2 separate regions of the Homo sapiens genome follow, and region 2 is linked to region 1. Evidence: promoter capture Hi-C in human tissues and cell types (Jung and others, 2019). All regions are on one chromosome and are shown on one strand. The core of a region is centred on a gene start or on the middle of the fragment in contact, and the rest is flanking DNA. Distances in the headings are between cores, read along the strand shown. Region 1 holds the start of ASF1A (anti-silencing function 1A histone chaperone). Region 2 has its middle 93 kb from the start of NUS1.

Region 1 (5,104 bases), core at 989-3,488:
GAAATACCTGTAATTTGAAGAACTTCTGGTGGTATATCTGAAAAACAGTGTGGTATAAGTTGGAATGGACCGATCAATGGTTTTTCTTTTGTCTATTTTTATATGCAGTTGGCAATAAAAAAAAAATTACTGTTGGGTGTGAAAAATGGGCCTGGTAGCTGCAATGCTTATATTAATAGTAGTATCATAGGAGAGTAATCAAATGACTTCAGAGTAATAAGAAAAATACCCCTTAGTGTTATCAATGGCCTATTTGAAATTATTTTAATAAATGAATCATCTTTCAAAATTTGCCCTATATATGTATGTGCATTTATGCTCTATATAGGTTTAAAAAAAAAAAAAAAACGGGGGCACATGTTAAAGTAATAATTGTGATTACCGAAAGGAGATAGGGCAAGGCACTGAGTACAGAGAACTGTTAACTTTATATATGCCTGTACAACTTTCTAAAAGTTTATTACAATGAATATATATTGTTTTATAATTAAAATTAACCTTACATATGATATATACATTTTAGAGATTAAAAACTAGTTTTTAAAATGAAAAGTTTTACATGCCACGATTACCTAAATCATCTTCAATGCATTTTTTACATATACTTCTAGTTCAAAGTATGTCCCTCATCGATGAAGTTAAACTATTTCCCCTTCAAAACTGGCAAATGAAGCACTGAATTACTTTAGTAAAAGATAATTAAAGCAAAGATAATTGTCGTTTTAGCTTTCTAAATATTTATTACTAAAGATATTAAAAATACGTATTTTTAAGACCTTAAAATATATGTAGAAAAAATACCAAGAATTCTTGGACTGACATGAGGAGTTGACCTTAATTTCCTAGCCTACGTTTGTGTTTTATGTTTAGGGTGTGTTCTGTATTTGGATGTGGAGTTATTTTAGATTTCAACACGGTCTTGAAGAAAGTCTTCCTTCAGACTATTTATAAGGCAGAGATTAAGTCCTGGAAATTATTTAAGTATCTTATTTCTGCTTTTAGGTTAAATGTAACTTCCTACCTCAGCTCTATTTCTCTTCCTGAAATTAGCTTTTCGTCATTAGGGGAAAGGAGTCCACGTTGGTTGGGGAGCCTGCGCGCCAGCATCCCGGCGCATCCCGGGCGCCGGCCGAGGAGGACCGGCCGAACAGGACCCACGGCCCCCGGGGAGCGCCGGCGCCCAGCCCGCGGCGCGGAGGGGCCGAGCCTGCGCCCGCCTCCCCCGCTGGTTGGTCGAGGAAGCCAGAAATCAGCGCGAGGACAGCCTCGCTCTCCTCCCCGAAGCGGCCAGGCATGGCCAGCCCGGAGAGTGCGGCGACTCCACCGTGAGCTCTCGAGAGTGCCTGCCTGCCTTTCGCCGGGGGCAGGCGGGCGGCGGGGCAAGAGGAGGCGCCGTGCGCCGGGGTCGCTGGCCCAATTCTCGACTCGGGGTAAGATGGCTCCGCTCCGAACTCGCCGGCGCGACCACACGCACAGCCTCTCCCTTCCCAGCCTCCGTGCTCGGGCCCGGAGGGTCGCGGAGGCTGTTGGCGGCGCGGAGCCAGCCCGGCGCGACCTCAGGCGGCGCAGCGGGAGCGAGTGCGGGTCTCCGAGCTGCCCGCCCGCAGACAAAGCTGACAACATGGCTACCTCCGCTCCTCCGCTCAAACAAGTTCCTCGCAAGTTGAGCCCGGCAGGCGCCTGGGCTGCGGCGGAAAGCCGCGCGCGCCTCGGCGGCCGTCGTCCATCAACTTCAAGTTTCCCTCCGCAGAGCAGCCCGCGGCCGCCAGGCGCCGAACACAGCCGCCCAGCGCGAGGCCCGGCCCGGGAAACTTTCAACGTCTGCAGCCCGCAACTGACAGCCCGGGCGCACGGGCGCCGCACTCACCTTCAGACAGGTCCTCGATGCACTCGAAGGTGATCTCGAACTGGAACGGGTTGTAGAAAGGAGAAGGGTTATCCAGCACCACTACATTGTTCACCTGAACCTTTGCCATATTTTGAAAAAAACACAAACAATGGGAACTGGGGCTGGTTGCGGCACAATAAAGTCCAGCGCGCGGCCGCTCGGGAGAGCGCAGACCCCCGCTCCAGCGCCGGCCAGACGTCGTGCAGCGGCGACTTGAGAAACTTTTTTCCTCTTTTTATTTACACGGGAGCACTCCACAGTGTTTTGCAGCTTTCCTATTTCACTAAACTACAGCCCATTCTGCTCTGATAAGTAGCAGCGTTGCCCTCGATTGGCTGCACCCGAGTTCTGACCCTCCTCCTCCAGCGAGGGCCTCGGCAGCCAGCAAGATGGGCTCCCGCTCCCGGAATGGACTCGGAAACTTTAACTGCGGCTCCACCTGCTGGTGTGGATTAGGACAAAGGCGGAGAACAAAGTGAGTGGAATAAGGGCTGGGAGGCCCGCGCGGAGGCCGCCGGCGGCGGCGCGGAGAGGGGCGGAGGGGGCGTGGCCGCGGCGGGGAGGCGTGGCTGCGGCGGGAGGGCGCGATCCGGCCGACGCCCGCCCCTCCAGTTGGCTTCGTGTGGGTGTTTTGGCGTTTTTTTGTTTTTTTTTTTGTTTTTTTGGTTTTTTGATTTAACGCTCTTTTTACATCAGTGCAACAGCTTTGCCGGCCTTGCTGAATTTAGCAGATGAGAGTCGGTGTTTACACTGGGTTAGGTTCAGCTTTCTGCGTATCGGGTAGTATTTGGAGTAGAGAGAAAGATTGGCTGCAGGGGAAATAAATTGCATGTTATAGACCGATGTCAGCTCGAAAGGAGCAAAGCCATTTTGGAAATCTAGCTCTTGGCCAGTATCTACGTTTAGGCACGACAGCGCCGTTAAGCAACACAAAATGAAGGGCGAGGAATGATTTTCTACACACTGTGCTTGGAAAATTTAAATAGGTAACCTTTGGGCTTGCACCTGGGCGTCTTCTTCGGAGTCCAGATCTGGGAAGTCCTAGAATAAAAAAAAATCACAAGAGGTGTGATCAGTTATACTTCAGGTTACTGCCATTTGGAGAGCATAGCAGGAACATAAAAGGAGAAAATGGAAGTGTTAGGAGACCAACAGGGCAACAAACGTAATAGAGATGGGAAAAAGAACACAAAGACATAGCAAGACATTTGATCTTCAAAAAAATTTCTGACCTAAACCGTTAGTAAAGCAAATTCTGAGGAGCCCTTGCTTGCCTGTAACCAGTTGAGGTCTGAACTGAGGAAATGTTGATTCGTTTATGCTGCTTGGCTACCATTGCGGGGAAAGAGAAAGCTTTAACATATTTGTGAGCCTAAACCGTTTCTATTTAGTAAGTGGTATAAAGGTTTGTTTTATTATCTGCTAGCCATAAACCATCATTTTTTTCCTTAAATGTTGTGAATGAAACCACCAAACTTGGCCAAATTCAGAGAGAAAATTAATTCTTAAGTATGTGTTCTGGAAGAGTTTTCTCTTAGTATAGTGCCCAGAATTTTGATTTGTCATTCTTTGGTCATTGTTCATACTTAAGTAGGTGGCTTTTGATGAAACGTTTTCATCTGATGGTCTTTTGAAAGTTAATGTGAGACAGCTAATGTCAACCCCTCGTACATTTAGGAAAACCGGTTAGAGTGGGGAAGAGTTCCCTTTTTTTGTCAGTGGATTGAACAGTTAGATATAGGACCTACCAAAAAACACTTCTTCAAGCCAGTTGTTTGTGACATTAGAGTATTAAGAGTCAAACCATGGTGATAGACACAGATTTTTGTGGCTGATAAACAACATACTCTTCATTCTTATTAGTGCTGGTCCTAACACTAGCAGATAAAGTGGAAATTGCTGTATGCTGTAAGACACTCTGTATATGTAAGATAAAATGACCATTTGAAGATTAAAACTCCTGTGAGACTGGTGTATGCAGTTGTCTGATTATTACAGGTACTCTTAAGAGGAGAGTCTAGTCAGTCTCATGAAAACGACATTTTATGCTTGTTAAAATCACGTGCATTTTGCAGTCTGACCGTAAGTGTTACAATGAGACTAGTTGTAAAACTCACTTTTGGTGGATGTGCAGCATGAAGGACTGAGAAGATCTACCTGAATGCCACTAATTTGGCTTATTTTCTTTAAAATTTTTTGTTTAACACATCATATGCAACAGTATTTAAGAAGAAAAAACTCCCCAACATTTCACTGGAAGCTGCAAGAATTAGCTCCAGGCTTCTCCTGTCTTAACTCTTGTATTATTGCTTGTCAGAAATACTAAAGGGTCGTTGAGCACTTTGTTCAATAGTTTCCTCACCATTGATACTACCTTACTCCAGGAGAGACCGAAAGGATTCCTCAGATATGTCCTGGCATATTTCTAATTTAACTGGTATGCTGTAGGAAAAAAAGAATTGTGAAAGCCTCTCTCTGGTTTCAGAGGCAATCAGTAGGACTTGTTGCTGAACAACTTTGGTGACTCCCAAACATCTAATTGTACAACAGATGGGTCACTGTGAATGTCTTTATTAAGTACCCAAGGGGGTCCCACATAATGTTTGGAGGGCTGCATGGAATGTAATCCCCCAATCACTTCTCACTATGGGTTACTTGGGGGAAGGATGGCTGAGAGAGATTTTATCGGCTCTAAGATGAACAGAACAAAGCCTAAACTAGTGCTTAGGGCAGAAATACATGAAACTAGTTAGTTGTTGTTTTAGACTGAATTATGTCTCCCCCAAATTCGTATGTTGAAGCACTAATCCCTAGTACCTCAGAATGTGACTGTATTTGGAGATTAAGTTAAATGAGGTGATTGGGGTGGGCCCTAATCTAATCTAGCTGGCGTCCTCACAAGGGGAAATTTAGATTTACAGAGAAGCACAAGGGTCACACGCACACAGAGGAAACACAGCAAAAAGGTGGCCATTTGCAAGCCAAGCAAAGAGGCTTTAGAATAAACCAAACCTGCCAACACCTTGATCTTGGATTTCTAGCTTCCAGAACTGTGAGAAAGTAAATTTCTATTGTTTAAGCCACCCAGTGAGTGATATTTTGTTATGGCAGCTCTAACAACCTAATATAGCTATAAGATATTTTTCCCCTCAGAATTAAGCTTATTTGAGCATCTAATCTTACTGAATCCAAATATTGGTCAGTTCCCAAGCACTT
Region 2 (5,104 bases), core at 1,115-3,614, 1.1 Mb after region 1:
AATATTTGTCAATTAATGAATGAGAAAATATAAGCATAACCAAAACACAGACACACCACAGAGAAAGACCTGGAGTCATTCTTTTGGTATTTTTATAATTTTTTTGAAAGTTGTAGAAAATTGAATAACTGACAGTATTTTAATAAGTTCCTTGAGGTAAATGATAATATATGAAAATTTATGGCAGAGTATAGCAAAATGCTATATTAAAAATGAGGTAATAAAATGATGACTTATTAATCATCAATAAATAATATTGTTATTAAATTTGAGGCTGAAAATTATAAAAGCCATAACAAAAATTCCCCTTTACTTTCCAAATTATTCAATATCTGTATCACATAGAAAAAAATAAAATTAATACTCTAATTGTAAATGGCAACATTTATTCTTTTCACATTCTGGAAAGGGCACAGTTGCACTTGCAACAACCATGCACTGGTGTTAGTAAAGAAGTTTCTCCAAATGACAGACAAGCAAAGGGAAGGGGATATGTTTTTTAGGCAAAATCAGACCTATCCTGTAGAAATGTGACTCTGGAATCCATCACATTCCTCCTGTGTTTTTGATCCTAGAACAGGGTCTGTGTTGCCAATGCCAGCTAATGGCCCAGGGAAGAGGTTTGGCAGATTTAGCCAATAAAAATACAGGATTTCCAATTAAATTTTACATGTTGGATTAACAATGAATAATGTTTAATATAAGTATGCCCAGTAAATTATTTGTTGTTTATCTGTAATTCAAATTTAACTGGTGCTACAGACTGAAATGTGTTCTCCCTAAAGTTCGTATGTTGAAGCTCTAACCCATACTGTAACTATCTTTGAAGATAGAACTTTTAGACGGTAATTAAATAAGGACATAAAGGTGGGATCCTAGTCTAATGGGATTGGTGGCTTTATATGGAGAGAGAGAGAGGGGTCTCTCCACAGCCATGCACCAAGGAAAGGCCATGTGAAGACACAGTGATAACGTGGGCACCTGGCAGCCAGAAGGACAGCCCTCACCAGGAACCAAACCTGCCGATACCTTCCTTTTGGACTTCCCACCCTCCAAAACTGTGAGAAATAAATGTGTGTTGTTTAAGCCACCTAATCCGTGGTATTTTGTTATGGCAGCTTAAGCTAAGACAGCAGGACATCCTATATTTTATCTGGAAACCCTGCCAGTGAGGCCAGATATGAGTGAAGAAGGGAGAGGAGTAGGAAGGAATTCCTTCTAATACCAGTACTGTCCAAACTTGCCTCCCTGTCTCCAAGATGAAGGGAGCAAATTGAACCCTAACCTTCATCACACACCCTCTGTCAGGCTGAGATTTTGAAGCTTCTTGCTCTTTATCTTGATTTCCTCTGAGTGAATGAGTGTGTGTGTGAGTCATTGTAAGGGAGAAATTTGGAAAATGAGGACACTTTGGCCTTTTATCCACAGAAGTGGTTCTGCTTCAAATCAGAGCACAATCCCATAAGGACATGTCCAAAAGTAAGTCTTAGTGATTTTACCTCCCTAATCAAAACACGGATGAAAGCTCCCTGAGGGGAGTTTTGAACTGGATAATTCTTTGTTATGTGAGCCTGTCCTGTGCGTTGTAGGATGTTTAGGACCATTCCTGGCCTCTGTCCTCTAGTAATAACCTCTTCCCCTCAGTTACATTCCAAAATGTTTTCAATCGCCAGCATCACCTGTGAAGTAAAATTGGTCCCAGCTGAGAACCATTAACTTAATCGACACATGCATCAAGGTACTTTAAGAGTATTTTACACTGAATTAGCACAATCTGTGATTGCATTATAAGGTGGGTATCTGAGATTGGCAATCAGGAAAAACTATTTGAACATGGCACCACCCAGCCCAGATTATTCAGCAACTTCGCTAAAGGTAGGTTTCTATATCATGAAAACCTAAGAAAATAATGCTAGCTTAATACAACAATACTTGGTTGTGTGTGTGTGTATGCAAGGAATAGGGTTAAAATACTGTTAATAGAAGAAATATAATCACTGGGTGAGAATATACAATGTCGTCTCCAGAAAAAATTAATTTTCTTCACGATGATACCCTTGTCTAATTGAGAAACAACTGATCACAGCCATATACCTTGTGGAAACCCAAGCTAGAATAAAGGCATTCACTGTCCACCTCTATCTGGAACTCCAACCCCATGCTTGTTGGATCAGAACTCAACTCTCCTCTCTTCAGAGTCAGCATATTCTTTGGAGAAGAAAAACCCCTAACATTTCTTTCCTGCTAAATCTGAGGTGGAACTTACCAGACACACGAAAGGACTGTGGCTTGGACAACTCTACTTGGTGAAGGGTGGAGTTTCCCAAGGGAGAGACAAAATACTCAATGAGAAAAACTGAAAGAAGCTGCTGAGTGAGGACGAGAGAAAGGACTGAAGAGAGAAACTTTGAGAATGAGGAAGCATACGCAGGTGACACTCTGAGACTAAGTGGAGAGGCTTTGGTGTTCCTTTATAGAGGTATGGAGGATGGATTCCCCTTATTAAGTTAAAACTTCTGTCCCTCTCATTTTGCTGTGCTTTGGATTGTTTACTCCAACCCACATCTAAGTGGCACAGTTCACACTGGAGATACATGTATACAATTGCTTATGAAAGGTTTCAATAGAGGGCAGTAAAATGTCTTTGAGGAAGGGGTGGGTATCAGTCAGGTACCTAATAGGAAACTGAGTCCAACTCTGATAATTCAAAAAATATTAATTAAAAGACTACCCCGCTACTCCTCCCATGTGTGCAGAGGGCCGAGGAAACCAATAAGGGATACTGCACTCACTGGCAAGAGCAGGAAGCCAGGACCAATTGGTTTTCACATATTGGTTATTCCCTAATCAATAAGGGAAACCAATAAGGGATATTGCACTCAGACACTGGCAAGAGCAGAAAGCCAGCACCACTCCCAGACCTGAAGGAGCAAGAGCGAGTAGGGCTATCAGAATCTAGTGAAAGCTAGAGTTGTGGGGGAAGGGCCTCCCTCTCAACAGGAGGTACAAATGTGGATGGATGCTGGCACCAGCATAAATGCAGGCCCAAGTGGGTAAGGAGCAGGGAAAATGTTCCATTTTTCCTTCCACCAGTTTAATGTTCTGTAGTCTCCCACTGGCAGAACTCAAGATTGGCAAGAGCGCCCAAGTGATATAGTCAAAAGAAATTGAGTTTAATGAAAAATAAGGCTAAAAATTATAATATGAAGAGTTTATAAAAATGCTCAATAGAAGTAAAATCTAAATTTACTTCTGAGCATTCCAGCAGCCCAAAGAGTTGCATGAAGATGTGCAGTGTCAATATGAGAATCTTCATCTAGTAACTGAGAAGTACAATGAATCCTTCGCTCCAGAAGCTCCATACTTGAATAGTCTCAGGATACACCAAATAAAGCTTTCCTCTCCTATGAGGTAGGGATGTATATGTCTAATCAATTTCTGTACTCTGATGAAAGAATTCGGTCCTCCCTATTTCATGTAGCATATGTAACAGATATGTGATTTCTCCAAGTAAATTTTCCCTAAATCATGTGCCTAGCCATAAAAACAAAACAAGAAAAATAAATACAATGGCTATAATTCTACTCCTAATGAAAGCTTGCAACAAGTTAGAAAAGTCCTTTGTGCAGAAATACTAAAATAATGAACATCATGCTTATATACAGAATCATAACTTTTTGTTATGAATTTTGGCACCCAGATGTATTTTTAAAATACTCTTTGTTTTTTATTGATACATAAATAATTGCACATATTTATAGGGCACATGTGGTATTTTCATTCAAGCATACAATGCATAATGATCAAATCTGAGTAATATCCAGTTCACCCAACACCATTTATTGAAGAGACTCTCCTTTCCCTAATGTATGTTCTTGATGCATTTGTCAAAAATAAGTGGGCTATAAATGTGTGGATTTATTTCTGGGTTATTTATTCTGTTCCATTGTTGTATGTGTCTGTTTTTATGCTACTACCATGCTGCTTTTGTTACTGTAGCTTTGTAGTATATTCTGAAGTTAGGTAGTGTGATGATTCCAGCTTTATTCTTTTAGCTGAAGATTGAGCTATTCAGGGTCTTCCGTGGTTCTATACAAATTTTAGAATTGTTATTTCTATTTTGGTGAAGAATGTCATTGGTATTTTCACAGGAATTGAATCTGTAGATTGCTTTAGGTAGTATGGAACTTTTTTTCTCTTTCTTTTTTTTTGAGTCTCTTCAATTTTTGTCATCAGCTTTTTTATAGTTTTCCTTGTAGAGTTATGTTACCCTTTTGGTTAAATTGATTCCTTGATATTTTCTTTTCTTTGTAGGTATTTTAAATGGGATTGCTTTTTTGATTTCTTTTCTGTTTTTGTTTGTTTGTTTGTTTTTGACAGGGTCTTGCTCTGTTGCCCAGGCTAGAGTCCAGTTGTGTGATCATAGCTCATTGTGGCTTTGAACTTCTGGGCTCAAGCCATCTTCCTGCCTCGCTCTCTTGAGTAGCTGGCGCTACAGGCAATGTCACCATGCTCAGTTAATTTTTGTATTTTTTGTAGAGAAAGCATCTCACTATGTTGTCCAGGCTGGTCTTAAACTCCTGGCCTCAAGTGATCCCCTTTCCTTGGCCTCCCAAAGTCCTGGGATTATAAGCATAAGCCACCATGCCAAACTGCTTTCTTGTTATGTTCTTCAGATTGTTTGCTATTGGCTGTATTTGGCTGAACTTGCATTGCTGTAAAGACATACCTGAGACGGGGTAATTTATTAAAAAAAGAGGTTTGATTGGCTCATGTATCTGCAGGCTATTCAGGAAGCATAGCAGCATCTGCTTCTAGGGAGGCCACAAGAAGCTTTTACTCATGTCAGAAGTGAAGCAGGAGTAGGCACATCACATAGCAAAAGGGTTTTCCAATTTGTTGGTGTACAAGTGTTCATAATAGTCTAATGATCCTTTGAATTCATTGTAATGTCTCCTTTTTTCACCTCTGGTTTTCATTGTAATGTCTCCTTTTTCATCTCTGATTTTATTTATTTGTGTCTTTTTTTCTTAGTCTGGCTAAAGGTTTGTTAACTTTGTTTTTCAAAAAAAAAAACAAAATTTTTGTCTTGTTGATCTTTTGT

What was found. Contacts are between HindIII fragments. The study calls those that stand out against the background at their distance.
Region 2: a contact is called between a fragment that was not itself captured here and the fragment with the promoter of ASF1A in region 1, in 1 of the 25 tissues and cell types used here (lymphoblastoid cells).

The regions. Positions count from the first base shown.
Region 1 is chr6:118,891,286-118,896,389 of GRCh38, reverse strand. ASF1A (anti-silencing function 1A histone chaperone) reads right to left here and starts at 2,238. Exons shown (of 4, transcript NM_014034.3): 1 at 1,868-2,238. The coding sequence starts at 1,976. All of the region lies in intron 8 of MCM9 (minichromosome maintenance 9 homologous recombination repair factor), which reads left to right. RefSeq lists silencers at 1,044-1,573, 2,364-2,503 and an enhancer at 1,954-2,043. The HindIII fragment of the contact is 10,588 bases long and covers 1-4,145 here.
Region 2 is chr6:117,766,139-117,771,242 of GRCh38, reverse strand. No RefSeq gene overlaps it. Among named protein-coding and RNA genes, the nearest start is that of NUS1, 93 kb to the right of the region's middle. The HindIII fragment of the contact is 3,703 bases long and covers 513-4,215 here.